3 separate regions of the Homo sapiens genome follow, and regions 2 and 3 are each linked to region 1. Evidence: promoter capture Hi-C in 16 types of primary human blood cells and fetal thymus (Javierre and others, 2016). All regions are on one chromosome and are shown on one strand. Each heading gives the region's core, a stretch centred on a gene start or on the middle of the fragment in contact. The rest is flanking DNA. Distances are from core to core; before and after follow the strand shown.

Region 1 (3,654 bases), core at 446-2,945:
TCTCATCCCACTTCACTCGTAGGCCTCCAACAGCTGGCTTCACACAGTCCCACACCTCCTCTAGTGTCCCATATACAATGCCTTCTCCTCGGTACCTGGAGCACGAAAAGGAATTTGACCCCAACGCATCAATCAAACTTGTTATCTTGAGATTGTATCTAAGGACTAGAAGGTGGACCATGCCATGTCTGTCACTACTCTTTAGGACAGACTTGCAGAGAAGGGGCTGAAAGTCACTAGCCCCGCCTCCCTTCAGGCCTGCAGAAATGGACAGTAAGCTTTCACAAGAATACAGTTTGCTGGAAATGATTTCATTAAAAACAGTAAGGCTTTTCTGGAGGACAAGTGATCACAGGTTATAGGGTTGATTTGAATATTTTAGGAGGCAGGCCCATAAAGATACCAGGAAGGGTGCGGCACCTCTGGTAATCTTTGAACGAGGCATGCACTTACAGGTTCCCTGGAAACTCCACAGATGGCCTCCAGGAAACTGAAACTCCATTCTGTCAAAAGGCACAGAACCACAGAATTTTAGAGCTAGAAGGGCTCTGGTCACCTGGCTTAATCCCCTGTTCTACAGAAGAGGGGTAAGAGGCCTCAAGAGATACGACTCTCCAAGGCTGTGCAACCCATACGTGGAAAAGCTGGGACTAGTCTTGGGCAAAGCTGTCCCCACAGCAGAATGTGATGAAGAAAAAGATCTTAACTGGCTGACTCCAAGAGCCGTGGGTGGTTTTTAAAATTATCTTAAAAGCCACCAGGCATTCTGTTTCCTTGAGCAACCCAGGGCTACTTAATGAAAAGTCAGAAGGGTCAAGCAAAACTACTCCCATGCTACCCTCTGGCAACGACAAAGAGAGGGGTTCATGCTGTAATGAAAAGTCAGAAGGGTCAAGCAAAACTACTCCCATGCTACCCTCTGGCAACGACAAAGAGAGGGGTTCATGCTGTAATGAAAAGTCAGAAGGGTCAAGCAAAACTACTCCCATGTTACCCTCTGGCAACGACAAAGAGAGGGGTTCATGCTGTAATGAAAAGTCAGAAGGGTCAAGCAAAACTACTCCCATGCTACCCTCTGGCAACGACAAAGAGAGGGGTTCATGCTGTAATGAACACAGAAGAAAACCTTAGTATGCATCAGATGCTGGATCAGACTTTACTGGATTTAAACAACATGTAAAAACCTCCTTAGCTGCGACCACATTCTTTCATTTTGTTTTGTTTTTAAACACCTGCTTACCCCTTAAATGCAATTTATTTACTTTTACCACTGTCACAGAAACATCCAGTCCTAAACAGCATTCAACAGCCAGGTGACCTTGGGCAAGTCACTGAGTGAAAGGAACAGATACTTACCACCTGAAGTCATTGTGAGCATAACAGGCCCAATCTTTTTTTTAAAGAAGAAAACAATCCCCATTGGAATCCCTCTCAATCGGGTCCAGGGGATTGGGGAGCAGAAAACAACGGGGAGAGGAGGCGCTTGGGGGCTTCTGGGGACCCGGGCTCCACGAAGCCGTCTCCGCGACCCCTTCCCGCCCAGCTCCTCACTCACGCCTTCCCGGCAAATCTTCCAGCCTGCTGTGTCCCGCCGGTACTGGAGCATCTTCTCGGCCACAGCCTCGCTCATCTGGGCTGCCAGCGCCGGGTCCATTGCGTCGGGAGCTGCGCTTAGCTGCGGGGTCGCGGGTGTTATGAGCGGCGGCGCTGGATCCCGGGTGCCTGGAGGCTGGAGCTCTGGGAGGAGCTCGTAGCCCCGCCTCTTTCCGCGCCCCCGCTCCCGAATTGGTCCAGGCCCTCAGACGGATCCCGCCTCCCGGAGATTGGCAGGACAAGGAGACCGCGGGGCCAGGCTCTCCAGTTAGCGTCAGCGCCTGGGCGGGTCCCGGACGCCTTGGGCGGGCCGGGTAAGGTCCAGCCGTATCCGCCTCCTTCATGTCCCGCTGTGGGAGGGGCTCTGGAGCGCCGGGACTGTGAGATGGCCAATGACGGTCTGACCCGTTGGGCCGGGCCAGGTCGCGGACAACGTCGACCGTTTGTTTAAGAAGCGTGGACTCTTGTCCTGAGTGCACCGAGGCTTTCAGCCTGCGGGACAGTGGTGCGATTTGCATTAGAGGTAATATGCTAGGGCGGCTGCTGCAGGGTGGGAGAGGAAATGCGCGTGGAGACTGGGCGCGTGCAATGGTGGGAGAGGTGTGTGGCAGGGGTGCGGGGAGTGGGGGTGAAGAGAAGAGGACCCATCGTAGAGTGTTTAGGAGATGGAAGGTGAAGGTCTCTGCCCCCGATTGTGGATGTTCAGAAGGAGAAAGCATCATGACTCCCAGCCTTGGCCACCTGGCAGCTTACCTGAGATGGAGAAGAGATAGGGTGAGTTCAGTTCTGGGCATATTTAGTTGGAGGTGCCTGAAGGGCCTTTAGTGCAGGTGTCCAGGAGTCAATGCAATGCGCTGACATCTGCGAGAGGCCCGGCTTTATTAGAGATATGGGAGTTCTCTGCTTCCAGCTGCCCTGGAGCTGCGGGGAGTGAGCCAGGGTCGCATCTTCACAGCGTGAATGGCAAGGACAGCCTCGGTTTCCCCTCTTCTGCGCTATCACCAACTAAATATTTGAAAAGGTTAATACTGAGGTCTATTTCTTATCTTTCTTTTTTATGTACTTATTGTTTCCTTTAAACTTTCGATATAAATGTTTGGAAGAGTAGTGTAAACAAATTGACAACTTGAAAGACCTTTTTGGAAGATGTGAAGGGCAGCCAGGCTGTGAAGAAGACCTGGATGGGGAATTAGGGAGCTCAAGATCTAAACCCAGTTTCACTCATTATTCTTTGAGCTTCAGTTTACTCCAAGGTGAAATGGGATACATCATAAATGTTCCTGGCGGGGTCCGGTGGCTCACGCCTGTAATCCCAGCACTTTGGGAGGCTGAGGCAGGAGATCACTTGAACCTAGGAGTTCGAGACCAGCCTGAGCAGCATGGCGAGACTCCGTCTCTACTAAAAATTCAAAAATTAGCCGGGCATGGTGGCGCGGGGCTGTAATCCCAGCTACTTGGGGGGGCTGAGGTGGGAGGATCGCTTCAACCCGGGAGGCAGAGGCAGCAGTGAACCGTGATCGCGCCACTGCACTCCAGCCTGGGCTGCAGAGCAAGATCCTGTCTCAAAAAGTAATAAAAATAAACAAACAAACAAATAAATGTTCCCTATGCCCTTGTGAAGAGAGAGGGAAGTAACGCATGTAAATACTCTTAGGACCCATAAAAGAAAAGACTAGTAAATTAATCCCATTAAAAAATTAAGCACATCAAAATTTCATAAAAAGTTAGATAATATGAGAAAAAAATCGGGACACACTTTAACACATAAGTTTTCTTATCGAACCAAGGGCTCATACAAATCATTAAGCAATTTTCAGACAACCCCATAAACAAAAAGAATGCATTAGACATGGAAAGATACTTTGTGGAAAAATTAATTGACATGGCTAACAAAGCTATAAAAAGATGCAGAACCTCACTCATTGTTAGGGAATTAAAAATTAAAGCAAGGAGAGGCTTTTCTTAAAACCTATTGATGGACAAACATGAAGTTTGTTTATACCCTGTGTTGGTGAGGGTATGGAGAAATAGTTGTTACACAGCGGATGAGAGTACAAATGT
Region 2 (3,654 bases), core at 539-3,038, 910 kb after region 1:
TATATGGACTTGTAAGCCTTTCCCAATTATATACAGTAAAAAATCCCTCATGAACTCACCTGCATAAATTAAAGCTGAATTACATTTATTAAAGATATTACAGTATAGGTTTTCATAGGGCAAGAATATGACCAACAACCAAAAGGGACATATACCACATTACCTGATCACCCTTCATGATCTTTTTAGCCTTCATATTTATATAGTAATCTCCCCACAAGGTTTTCATAAGAACTTCCTTTTTGATGCCAATTTTTTGACTGTAGATTCTGGCGAAGTGCTCAATTCTGAAAGAAGACCAAATGTTCATGTTATTAATAACAACGATTATTGATTTCTGTGACAGGTACTGTTCAAACTTCTTTACACGTGTATTACTAAACTTAATCCAGTATCCTACAAAATTTCCTCATTTTACAGAAAAGGGTAATGAAGCAGAGATATCACACAGGGAACAAGTGAGGTGGGGATTTAAATCCAAGCGGTCTGGCTCCAAAGCCCATGTTCAGGTCTACACCAATATGAATTGTACTACATGCTATAGCTTTCTTTCTTAATTTTGCAGGTGTAAAACAAGATAAAATTAGGGACAAGAAAATGCAAGCTCCAGCTGCCTGTCACAACTATGCCAACAATAAAATTTTATTTCAGCTACTCACTGCTGTTAAGTGACAGCTGCTCACAAATGAAAGAAATTCTTGAGCCACAACCTGCCAAAACAAGATTTTTATTATCCTAGATTAATGGTAAACATACACACACTGACTTAACTCGCATCAACCCACAGAGAAAAACCACTTACCACCGTGGTCTCCAGTCACAGGAAGACAGTCAATCAACAACTAAGGGTCCTATATACAGCATCTGCATTGTCTGGATAAAGGACCTAAGAAATACCTTTTCTTTAGAGAACAATCTAGTTTAAGGTTTGAGATTAGAATTTTCAAAGTACCAGCATCTTAAAAGATGCCTGCTCAGGAAAAAAAAAAAGGATATCCCCAGTTTTTTCCACACCATACTGAAAGCCCAACCTAATGCAATCGCACAAGAAAAGGAAATAAAGGGTATACTGATTAGAAAAGAAGAAATAAAACTATCTTTGTTCACACGTGACTCTTTAATCACTCTTCCACAAATGAAGACAAGGTGAAAGGCTGAAATCCACTGGTAGAGTTCCTATGCCTCAAAAAGAAAGCAGGCTCTGCCTTGCTGCCTACTCTGTGGATCCCTAAAAAGATTCAGGCCTCCTCCTGGCTTCCGGTGTTTCAGCACACCCAGAACGGCACACAGAGCCTTACTTCCAGATGTTAAGTCAGGATACCCTTATCTCTGTGGCTTTTCATTTATAAATACCCAGTTTTGCTAGGCAGGCTGCAACCTGCCATGCAGATTTGCAAATCCAATTCAGGACCTACAGGCAGGTCCAAGGTCCACATATGGAAAGAAACAATAGGAGGCAACCACTGTGGACTGACTTCCCAGGCACTCTCCAACCTAACCTTAGAAGGGAGCCCTATTTGTTAGTAGTGATGCTCCCTGGGGCCTCAATAATACAGCTGAAGCTTTGCTCTCCATATTGGCGACTTGGGTCTATTCTTAGATGGTTAAAACCAGAGATAATGACTGAGCGATGAATACATGAAACCTGTGACATTTTCTTTCTTTTAAATTTGAATTATTTTTTCACCTGATATAGGACCAATTTTTGTATATCCTTCACTGACACTTAAATTCTGACTTTAATTATTCTATTCATATGGTTCATGTTCCTGTCTACTAACCTGTGAAAATCGCCCCCAAACCATGTGCCTACAGAGTTCTACTTATAGTTCTATTTTTGCCTCATGCACTTTGTTGTTATGATAATTGATAGTTAATCTCTTCACTAGTAAATGTGTCAATTATCTATATGAAAATGATCCTTATGCCATAATTCATTTACCATAAATCCTATTTTATTGTTAATATTGCCAAACCTCTCTTTTCATTCACATTTGGTTGACATAATCTGAGCTAAAGCTTTGGTATTTAGCCTCTGTCCATTATGCTTTAAGTTTATCTCTTTTATGTAGCAAACTTATGGATTTATTTTTTTAATAAAATTTCCTTTCTAAAAAATATCTCCTTAGTAGGGGATTTCATACATTTATTGGTATAATCATTTATTGGTACAACTGTTTTGATCAGTTAGATTTCTGGTGTGGTTTCTATTCTTCCAGGATTTTTTTTTAAATGTTGATTTGTGTTACCCAGACTGTATTATACATTATTTTATCTTTTATAATATGTCAGATAAATATCCTGCTCTTAATTCTGAAAGTGGTAAACTTAAAGATTTTTATAAATAAACACTCTAAAACCTCTATCAAAATCATAAATTATAGTAAGACATTTGCCCATTTGCTTAGGCTAGGCTCTTCTAGTCCACCATATTAAATATTCACACATGTGTACACATACGGGTACACAAATCTTTCAAAAATCTTGTTGCTTATCCTTTTCATTCTTTTTTATCCCGTAGTTACTACAAAATTTGCTTAACATCAACCCATTCGACATTACTGCTAGTGTTTTTATTTATTTTTGTCATTAGTTACAATTTTTAAACACTGACAATTTCTAGCACTTCCCCATTCTTGAATTCTATTTTAATTCATTTCCTCTACAGAGTAACTGCAAGCAAGATTCTAAGAGACCTGCAGAAAGATTTATATTCCAAGACTACTGATCTATTCATTGCCTATCTTCCTGAATGACAACTCAGTCAAGTATGAAATTACTGAGCCACACACACCCTTTTGCCCTCCAAGCTACCCAGTAGATTAATGTTAATTACAGAATTCTAATACTCAGTTACACAAAGACAAGTAAATCTATTACAAAGGGCTTTTCATTTCTCTTCTCTCCTGTCCCTCTTCTATAAGGTTGAGGACTCAGTTCTATGTATCTAAAACAAGAACTTAGATTCTTGATGCTACCCATCCAAGTCAATATGCTTCTGCTTTTCAGAGCAGACTCTCCCAGATTAACATCAATTAACAGGATAGATTTCGGGAGAAGACCTAGGTTCAGCCTCTAGTCACACTTCTTAATCCTTTCCCACTGCAGAGTTTATAGAACCATCTTGCAAATTCTGGAATGTGCTCATTTTCCACCTTTTGTGACACATGCAGCTGTCAACTTGGCCTATTCACTGACATTTTAGAGGAAAAGGGGAAGGAAAAAGTCTCTGGTGCTTTCATTTCCACCACTACTTTCCCATAAATTCACATATCAACTTGTTGAGAACAGACAGTAGCCAATCTCTAAATCTGACCTTGTCTAATACAGGGGAACATTCATTTATTGGCTGATAGTATCTAAAAATGTCAAAAGTAAGGGCTATGTAAATTACCCTTATTCTATCCATTCAACTTTCTCCCTATTCCCTGTCCTTCCACAATAAACTTCCCCCAATTTGTGTGATTTAGACTAAAATTAGCATAAAACATTGAATTACTTATGAAAATCAATGTAAGAAAGGGACAAGCCTCCCATCTTGTGGCTTATTAGCAGAATGCTCACAAATCAGGAAATCAACAAGTACGACCGTATTATATGACTGAATGAATCACTGTGAATGAATCTAAAGAAAGTCTTGAAATCATCTTAGCC
Region 3 (3,654 bases), core at 833-3,332, 830 kb after region 1:
TAGTACCAGGTGTTGTTGTATAGTTACTACTACCACCGATTTTACTGTGGTATAAAGATTGAGATAAATAGTGCTTAACACAGTGACTGTTATTTAATATATGACTATATCAATCATTTATAATTATTATTTTTGTTATGATTATGATTATAGTCCCAGAAATTTTAAAAACAAAAAGAAGGAAGGCCATTACAGGGCAGTTTATAATTTTTTCTACTAGTAAGCACAGAAATGTATATTAACCATGAATATCTTTCATTTGTCTTCAAGATTGGTGAAATTTTTAGAAAATGATAAACTATGCAAAGTTGGCAAAAGTTTGAGAAGAGGCAAGTTCAAATATTTATTGCTAGTTATAATGTAAATTAGAACAGTCTTTCTTGAGGAAAATATGGATCATAATCCTTAAAAATATGCATACTTTTTGAGCTAGCTATAATACTTCCAGAAGTTTATCTTAACCAAATAATCAGAACTGTGTATATAGATATTTGTGTATATTTGAATATGCATAGAACAGTGCAGATTTATGAATCTGAATGTAATGGTGGTTATTTCTGCATGATAACTGAATGATTCTTTTTCTTCTTCTGCATTTTCCTAATTTCTGCAATAAACATACATTATCTTTGGAACAAAGAAGAAAAATGCCCGTTATAAAAATTTGGGATGCCCATTTTATAATACATATCATCTTTATAGAAAAACATAAAGATTTCCAGAAGGTTTACATTGTAAAGACCACATCAATAAGAGAAGAAGTCTATCCTAATTACATAGCCAACATTTACAAAATAATATCTTGTTTTGTTGTCCTGGTATTTTGTGTGTTTTGTGTACATGCTTAAAGTAAAATACATACACAGAAAAACATTTTATGACTTAAGCTAAAAATGCAAAATTATTCAAGTGTAGGCAGTGAATGCCATTTTTCAGTTATTAAAAAATAAGTCTACAATCGAATAACTGTTCATGTCTGAATTGAGGGCATTTCATTTTTCTCCAAAAATAAGCCGCAGTCTAAGTTCAACTGGTTTAGGAAACACTAAAACATCCCATTGATTGAGAGCTATCATTTCTCCATCGCTATCATTTTCACCTAACCTTTCTTTTAAGTCATCCAGGCATCGCTGAAGGTGGACTTCTCCTGCTGTGACTAAAACGTGCTCTCCCGTTTCCTGAATTAAAATCTGGACACAGGGATCAGCCTGGTTTAACAGTTTCATTCCTTTTACGAGCTGAGGCATTTCACCTAGGTTAACAAAACGAAATAGATTAAATATGATATAAGAACTAACACAATTCAAAGACAATGGCTCTGGCTACTGAAGGGAAAATTACATTGAAATAAACTCTTAAAACAACAATTTATTTTTCTTCCAGATAGTGTAGTGATGTGAAGAAAACTACCTTCTAGTAATTTTTTTGTACAGATAGCAAACATGACACATCCGCAAGCTTACCATCAAGACTCCCAAAGCTGATCTATATTACTTCTTCAAATACTCTGCAGATACAAGCTACCATCTTTTTACTTGTGAATTCACCTAAATCTTATAACGAATGTATACATTATATACCTAGAAATGAAACAGAGCATTTCCTCAAACATCGCCTATAAAATCAACAAATAAGCAAAAGAAACATTTAATGTGATATTCAAGAAACTGTACCAGAGCCTCATATTAAAAATAATTATTTGTGAAACTGCTTGCTAGAACTTGGGTTTTAGAATACCCTAACTAGCTACTTTATCTGGTGAGCTAAAGGCATCTTCTGCATTGTGTTCTGCATGTATTTTTCATATATAATTGCTTTTTCCTGGGAGTTGAGAGTAGGGATAGGGACTGTGACCTACATCTTGGGTTTAGCTGCTTTTTCACCCCCTTTCCACATACTCAACTGCTACTGCTCCCTCAAGGCAGGTCCAAGGAAGTCTCTTGCAGCTGCCTTAGCAGAAACCTTGGTCTTAAAGACGTTTTTATGCAGTCTTGTTTCAATTCTACATTTGAAGAAAAGACTTAGCAATTCCTCAATGCTTGGTTTTCAGCATGTCAAACAAACAAAATCACAGGAACTTTCTGCAATGCAATGATTTTCAACATGCCTTATAAAAGTCGATTAACTGGGAGCAGGAATATTAGAACTTCTATACCTATTTATTTTTGAAATAAAGTTCTAATAATAACTAACATTTCATAGCACTAACAATGTGCCAGACAAGCACTTTACATATATGAGCTCATTAACGATGAGGCGGTATGATGATTGTTCTCATTTTATAGATGAGGAAACAGGTATAGAGAAACTAATAAACTTGTGTTCAAGGTCCCAGACTAACTAAGTGGCAGAACCTGGTTTAGAAGCTGGGCAGCCAGCCAGAGAGCCCATGCTCTGCGGATGGATGTCAGCACACTTGTAGGTCAGGTGATCAAAAGCCACATATGGAATGCAAAGAATCCCAAGGGAAGACGGAAAGTGGGATTTCACTGTGTCCAGGGTTGACAGAGGCACCTTCATTTGTTCCTTTTTGGCATACTGTAATTTTTTTTTTGTCTAATTAAGTGGATTTTCAGATATTATCTAGTGTTAACTAAGCCTTCACAGAATTTTAAACCTGGCTTAAAAGGATTCCTGCAAAGATATCACTGATAATACTATAATACTAATAACATAAGCACATGGGAATAATAAAAAAAGAAATGGCAAAGCTTTTTGTCAGCTCTCCATCAAACAAATTATAAAGTAAAAACAATGGTTATCACCAAGATGAGATCCCAACAAATATTTCTGAAAAAATATATACACACTTAAATCTGTCTCTTCAAGGTAAAATAAAGGTAACAGTTTAACAATAAGAAAAGTTTTTTTTTTTTTTTCAAAAGAAATTTGAAACATGGAGACAACATTTTGAAATTAGGTGTTTGAAAATGTTGCCGCTGACAGCTATTTGGTTGCCAAAGATAACATAAATACTTCATGTATAATGTATAAAAACCTCTTACAATTTGGAAGGTGATTTTCTTAACCTGTTCTTAAAATCACCAAATGGATAGTTCAATAAAGATATAAGAATTAACAAACCTTCTAATTAGTGTAAGAAAAATGGACTGCCATCAGGAAAACTAGATGTTCACTATATACATTTTACCAAAACCTTTTAATAATTGGGAAAATGGAATACTAAAATGGATAACGTGACTTAGTAAAGGAAGCCAACGAATCATTCTTCCCTTTGGACTATGCAATTTTGTGAGGTGCCTTTTCCAGTGATAATGGTCATTAAAATCAAGTGTTTTAACAAATGGAACCTAGAAGCCGACCTTGGAATGGCTATATCACAAAGTGTTCAGGCAAGACCTTCAAAAAGAAGGAAGCATTATTGTGGTAGCCAGCCTCCAAGATGGCTCCAATCATCCTTGCCTCCTGATATTCACATTCCTGTGCAGCTCTCTCCAACAGTGAGTCATGGCTGGCCTGTGTGACCAACAGAACACTGTGGAAAGGATGATGTGTGATTCCCAAGGCTAGTTCACAAAAGGCATTATAGCTTCTGCCTTAGTGTTTTGGAATGCTGGCTGCAGCCAATCACCATGCAGGACACTCAAACAGTCATGTAGAGAGGAACTGAGATTCCCCAGCCAGCACCAACTT

What was found. The method cuts DNA at HindIII sites, captures the fragments that hold promoters and counts their contacts. A CHiCAGO score of 5 or more calls a contact.
Region 2: a fragment that was not itself captured here is called in contact with the fragment with the promoter of STARD5 in region 1 in 1 of 17 cell types (erythroblasts); the score reaches 5.7 in erythroblasts.
Region 3: a contact is called between a fragment that was not itself captured here and the fragment with the promoter of STARD5 in region 1, in 1 of 17 cell types (erythroblasts). The highest score is 5.3, in erythroblasts.

What each region holds. Positions count from the first base shown.
Region 1 is chr15:81,322,446-81,326,099 of GRCh38, forward strand. It overlaps STARD5 (StAR related lipid transfer domain containing 5), which reads right to left and starts at 1,696. Exons shown (of 6, transcript NM_181900.3): 1 at 1,556-1,696; 2 at 454-503; 3 at 1-95. The coding sequence starts at 1,654. TMC3-AS1 (TMC3 antisense RNA 1) reads left to right here and starts at 1,888. Exons shown (of 7, transcript NR_120365.1): 1 at 1,888-2,116. RefSeq lists a silencer at 2,188-2,237. The HindIII fragment of the contact is 9,334 bases long and covers 277-3,654 here.
Region 2 is chr15:82,230,685-82,234,338 of GRCh38, forward strand. EFL1 (elongation factor like GTPase 1) reads right to left here. Exons shown (of 20, transcript NM_024580.6): 8 at 164-287. Among named protein-coding and RNA genes, the nearest start is that of EFL1, 30 kb to the right of the region's middle. The HindIII fragment of the contact is 457 bases long and covers 1,561-2,017 here.
Region 3 is chr15:82,156,609-82,160,262 of GRCh38, forward strand. EFL1 (elongation factor like GTPase 1) reads right to left here. Exons shown (of 20, transcript NM_024580.6): 17 at 1,105-1,252. Among named protein-coding and RNA genes, the nearest start is that of LINC01583, 70 kb to the left of the region's middle. The HindIII fragment of the contact is 1,253 bases long and covers 1,457-2,709 here.